Regions from separate parts of the Homo sapiens genome. Here region 1 is linked to region 2. Evidence: promoter capture Hi-C in 16 types of primary human blood cells and fetal thymus (Javierre and others, 2016). All regions are on one chromosome and are shown on one strand. Each heading gives the region's core, a stretch centred on a gene start or on the middle of the fragment in contact. The rest is flanking DNA. Distances are from core to core; before and after follow the strand shown.

Region 1 (3,017 bases), core at 199-2,698, 3.5 Mb after region 2:
TACAGCCATTTCCCTGTTTATGATCTGCATAAATTGCTATAAAATCTAAGTTTTCATTTATTCAATGTATGTTTCTGGTATGCTCATACATACATATGTAATAAGCAATGAAGACAAAAGCCCTAGTGTTTATGTAGCCACCTTACGTATGTTAACATTTAGTCTGTCACAGTTATTATTCTACCATTGAAGAGGCTAAGACAGATTCAATAATTAAAGGTCACTTAGCTTATATGTGAGGAAGCCAGATGGAATCAGTCTGTCTGCTTCTGAAATGTGTCTGCTTTCCACTACATAAGGTTTTATTATTTCACTTTGTAGTGAAAAACTTTTGATTTTTGTGCCCTCTGCTGTTCATTGTCTGTAGGTCATCTGTAGAAAGAGAATTATTAGAAAATATTTGCCCAAAATAGTCATTTCAAAAGCATAGAATAATTTAAAATTTTTAATGAATTTGATATTATATCCAACTACATTAATTTTAGAGCATTTTGATTTATGTAGCAAAATATTATTACATGTATTTTCTTTTTTATAATTAGCATAAAATTATAGGAAGGCTAAGTAAAAATATTTTTTTTTTCTTTTTTTTTTTTTGAAAAAAGGTCTCACTCTGTCAGCCAGGCTGGAGTGCAGAAGCAGAATCTCAGGGCTGACTGCAGACTCAACCTCTCGATCACTACAGTCTCGGTCTCTGGGACTCAAGAAGTCCTTCCACTTTGACCCCCTGAATAACCGGGACTACAGGTGCACCGCCATGCCCGGATAGTTTTTTTTTTTCTTTTCTGTATTTGTAGACAAGTGGCTTCGCCATGTTGCCCAGGCTGGAATGGAACTCCTGAGCTTAAGCGATCCGCCTGCCTCGGCCTCCCAAAGTGCTGCTGGGATTAAAGGCATATGCACCCAGTCAGAAGTATTTTCTATTAAATATGAGGAAATTGACATGCGATGAGTTTTAAATAACAATTGTATTTTCTTTTTCTTGTAATTGCAATATTTATGAAAATGATTTGTTAGCACAAAATGCTAATAAAAATTTGTACAGGCTTTTAATTTTAAAATTTGTTTTACATATGCAGTTACACATTTAAATAAATACTATGTTCTTTATATTTTGCTAAACATGCATATGTTTGACTTGAAGTGGAATATTAGATTAAAAACAGAGAAATAAAGAGCCTATTTGTTTTCTTTTGGGGACGGCCTCACAGAGTAAGGATCAGATCAGGCCAAAGATTTAAGAAGTAGGTCTAGTTTGTAATACAGTAAATGAGAGTCTTTGATCTAACAGTCTTTTCAATTTTGTAACTAAGAGTTATTTAAGGTAACTTATTAAATAGGAAGTGATCGCACACATTGCTCTTATGAAATTTTGAATGCCCTGGGTGGCCTGTTGATAGGTGTAGGTAATAATGGTAGGATATACAGAGTTATGGAAAAGTTCCCAGTGTTCCAATAAATTTTTCTGAAAAACCTTGCCTCAGTATCTCATATTTCCACATGAGATATACCTTTGGCTTAAGATAGTGGACATTTAAATAATCTTGAAAATGCATTACATTTTTTATTTTTTTAATTATTTTATTTTATTTATTTACATTTTTAAGAAGGAGTCTCACTCTGTTGCCCAGGCTGCAGTGCAGTGGCGCAATCTCGGCTCACTGCAAGCTCCGCCTCCCAGGTTCATGCCATTCTCCTGCCTCAGCCTCCTGAGTAGCTGGGACTACAGGCGCTCGCCACCATGGCCAGCTAATTTTTTTGTATTTTTAGTAGAGACGGGGTTTCACTGTGTTAGCCAGGATGGTCCTGCCCTCCTGACCACGTGATCCGTCCATCTCGGCCTCCCAAAGTGCTGGGATTACAGGCGTGAGCCACTGCACCTGGCCAAAATGCATTAAGTTTTTATTAGTTATTAAGCCTCAAGAAAGAGTTTAGGAAACGTGGAGAATTCCCTAGCTTATGTAAGGCCATGTGTTTTTTTTTTCTGGTTTCTTCCTATGTACCTGCCTAACTCCTTTATAAACTTTCCCTTCTACCTACCATCCGCCATCCACAGATCTCCTTTAACTCCCTCCTCACCAATGCAGACTTCAGTACCTGGTTTTTATTCTTATCACATGCCACTGATTTAAATGTCAATGTGAATGGCTTATCTAATACTGCAGTCTGGACTCACAGTTCTTCGTCAAGTCTAATGACCTTTATTTTCCTTTCACTTCTGGTATTCACCTCTACAGCGGCATGCTGGGTGGTTATACTCAGAACCACTCCATCTCAACTCTCACACTCAGTTATCCCACTGTCTGAAAATACACCTCTTTGAAAATATACCTCTTCTGTCCGGAAGTCTCACACTGTGAGGACTTCAGGTTTATTATTCTTTCAATTTATCATCCCTTCCTTTATTTGCCAATGAATCTCACAACCACGCAGGTAAATGCCTTTATAAATTTCTGATCTTCACCTTCAGCTGACTCCTCAACAGTGTTCACCTGTTTTCAGGTGAACATTCCCCAGAAATGCTATCTCAAAATTTGAAAGTCCTACTGCTTTCCACAGTAGACCCCTTCCACTTATACTGGATAATCTCTACTTCACCTATTCTTGCTTTTGTCCCTTCCCTTCACCTACAATCTAGATCCCATTCTCTTGTGCCTCCTCAGGCAAATCACAGTATCTTTTTATTTTTTTCCTGTATCGCTCTGGGTGCGCAAGTCAATAACTGGCATCACTATTTTCCACTTTCCACTCTCACACTCTACACTGTTAGCAGTTTTCCTTATTCTCTCAGCTATGTGTACTTTTCTTTCCTTATGGTCACTATCTACCTTTACTTATGGCTCTCAATAAACATTGCCTGGATTACTGTAAACCTCTGAACCGATTCCTCTGCCTCTCTTCTTGTCTTGCCTGATGCCTACTCTGCTTCCCAATCCATTTTTCATGTTGTCATTTAAGTAATTTTTTCCCAAATGGTCATAGAATACTATTAAACCCAAACTAAAATCCTTCAGTGT
Region 2 (3,031 bases), core at 89-2,588:
CAAATCTGCAAGAGGAATGTCCCAGGTCACCTTTAGCCAATCTGTTTTAGATTTTCTGAACTCCCCAGATGATATTAAGGTAGGCTGCAGACACTATGAAGCTAGCTTGTTTTCTGGTTACCCTTACTCTTTATGTGTCCCAGTCCAAAGAAGAGGGGGGTGCGGTTTACTAAGGTGCCCAACCTTGGCAGGTCCCCATTTCAAATTCTTGTAACGCTGGCTCCAGGAGCTGCCAAAAGCACAACTCAACCTATGAGGTGCTCTTTATGACTGGAAAAAGTCCCCAGGATAAAAGCTCCTTAAGCACATTACTCTTTTTTTTTGAAACAGGGTCTCTCTGCTGCCCAGGCTGGAGTGCTGCGGCACCATCTCGGTTCATTGCAGCCTTCACCTCCCAGGTTCAAGCGATTCTCCCGCCTTAGTCTGCTGAGTAGCTGGGATTACAGGCGCGCTCCACCAAAACCAGCTAATTTTTGTATTTTTAGTACAGACCGGGTTTCACCATGTTGGCCAGGCTGGTCTCGAACTCCTGACCTCAAGTGATCCGCCCGCCTCGGCCTCCCAAAGTACTGGGATTACAGGCACAAGCCACCGCTCTCAGCCTCAAATTACTCTTTTAAATGGCTGTACCTATTTACACTCCTACCAGCAGCCCAAGAGTTCCCATTGTTTCACATCTTCATTTCACCCTTGATATTTTTTAGCTTTTACTTTTTGTCAAACTGCTGGATAAAACTCAATAAACAACCTTTAGCCATTCTCTCTCCTTTCAGATTAGCCTTTCTAATACCATTTTTCAGGGATAGTTGACTGTGTTACCGCCTAGCACTTAGAAGGTGCTCAGTAAATACTCATTGAATGATGTAACTTTCCTACTTAACATGCTTTAATGCTTTTCCAAGTCCGGAGGCGGCTCCCCTTTTCTGAGAGCCTAATAATCACGTATTCGTTTCTATATTCCCAGAACCTAACAAAGAGTTTGAAAATTATCCTGCAGGCACCGCTAAGTCAATGTTTTTTCGGATGAATGAATAACCAATAGGATATCGTATACTTCTGCGATGCACGCATTTCTATTATCGCACACACCGAATCATACCGTATTTATTACTTATCCACGCAGATGGTGAGGTCTGTAGCCTCGGCATCTACACTGTGTCTGAAAGTAGGCACTAAACCAGTATTTTTTTAATTGAACCGTAAACTTGAATCAAACTTGGAAGCATTTAAAGCCAAACGCAAAGATACATGCGCAGTGATGCAGTAGGGTCGTCCAATCAGAGTAGGGCAGGACAGGGCAGTGCAGCGGCTAGGTAGTGCGCACGCGCGGCGGGCTCGTCCGCGATTGGCTTCGCCGAGGCGGGATCCTTGAGCTTCTCCGGCGGCGAGGGGATAGCTGGTTACCAGAAGGACTTCTTTGCAGGGCCAGTGGTTTCTGTCAGATTTTCGCCGGTGCGTCCTGCAGGGGGAAGCTCGGGAGGCTGCGACAGCCTGTAGGCTCGTGCGGGACAAAGCAGGGAGTGGCGCCGGAGCAGGCCAACGAGGGAGGAGGGAGGGAAGGCGGCAGGAGCGACCGAAGTGGCCTTCTGCGGGCCTGCAGCTTTGGTCTGAAGTGCCAGGGACGCCCTGGTTGCTGGCCCCGGGGGCCTTGGAGCGAAGGGCGGGCGGTGGGGGTTTAGGGTTGTGCGTTTGTGTGGGAGGGATGGTTCTGGGCAGTGGCCCCTGGGGCCGCCACTGCGGTCGCTTTGCGCAGGCTCCTCTTGGCTTTTGGGTCTCTCCCTCACTCCTGCACTGGGAATTTCCTTCCCCAGGGCCAGGGGGTGAAGGCTCTGCGAGCGTCCTGGAGAGTGTCGGTACGCCTTCTTTAGGGGCTTTTACCTCTTCACTGGTCAGGTTTTTCTTGTATTTCCTTAAAACCTTTTAATCGATTACCTTATGGAAGATTTTCTAGGTAGGAACAGATGCTTCTCGACTTACTACGGGGTTGAAAATATCCCAAATGGAAAATGGATTTAAAACACAGCTAACCTACTGAGTATTAAAGCTTGGCCTAGCCTACTTTTGTTATCAAAAAAATTATTTTCAGCTGTTTATTTTAGATTTGGGGGTACATGTGCAGGTTTGTTGCATCGGTATATTACGTGGTGCTGAGGTTTGGATACGATTGATCCTGTCACCCAGGTAGTGAGCATGTTACCCAATAGTTTTTGAACCCTTGCTCCTCCTTTCCTCTCCCTTCTAGTTGTCTCCACTGTCTATTGTTGCCATCTTTATGTTCATGAATGCCCAATGTTTAGCTCCCATTTATAAGTGAGAACATGCAATATTTGATTTTCTGTTTCTGCTTTAATTCGCTTTGGATAATAGCCTCCAGCTGCACCCATGTTGCTGCAAAGGACATGATTTCATTCCTTTTTATGGCTGCGCTAGCCTACCTTAAACATGCTCAGAACACTTACCTTAATCTACAGTTGGGCAAAATCATGAACACAGACGGTTGTGTGGTTACTTGTACAGTTTCTACTGAATGCTCATGGCTTTCTTAAAAGTCGAAGAATTCTAAGTGACACCGTCCTAAATTAGGAACCATCTATATAGCCGGAGTCTCAAAGGAGCAATTTAAGGCATGAAGTGAAATAATTACTACCTAATGTAGTTGGAAGTCGACAAGCAGCAACAGCAGGGAGAGACCGTTGCTGGTTCTTGGTAGAGTTGGTGTACTTACATTCTTGCATCCTCGACGTTTGATGGTTGCACATACCTCTCTTTAAAGCCCAGACGAACCCAAAGATTCTGGTCATTGTCCTGTATGTTGAACTACCCCTTCTCTATCTCCTTCACAGGACCTTCATCATTTCTACTCTCCGATAATACTAATTATAACAGATAACATTGAGTGCTTACTATGTGTCAAGTTTTGTTCTAAGTGCTTTACATATTTCATTTAATCCTCCCAACAGTCCGGTGTGTAAGCATGATTATGGTACCCCCTCTTAAAGATGAGGAAACTGAGACACATGGAGCCAAAGTA

The links. Contacts are between HindIII fragments. The CHiCAGO score rates a contact against its expected background, and 5 or more counts as called.
Region 1: a fragment that was not itself captured here is called in contact with the fragment with the promoter of RAD54B in region 2 in 1 of 17 cell types (monocytes); the score reaches 5.1 in monocytes.

What each region holds. Positions count from the first base shown.
Region 1 is chr8:90,988,640-90,991,656 of GRCh38, reverse strand. No RefSeq gene overlaps it. Among named protein-coding and RNA genes, the nearest start is that of C8orf88, 4.9 kb to the right of the region's middle. The HindIII fragment of the contact is 4,553 bases long and covers 1-3,017 here.
Region 2 is chr8:94,473,422-94,476,452 of GRCh38, reverse strand. It overlaps RAD54B (RAD54 homolog B), which reads left to right and starts at 1,338. Exons shown (of 15, transcript NM_012415.3): 1 at 1,338-1,452. RefSeq lists an enhancer at 1,376-1,605. The HindIII fragment of the contact is 4,488 bases long and covers 1-2,046 here.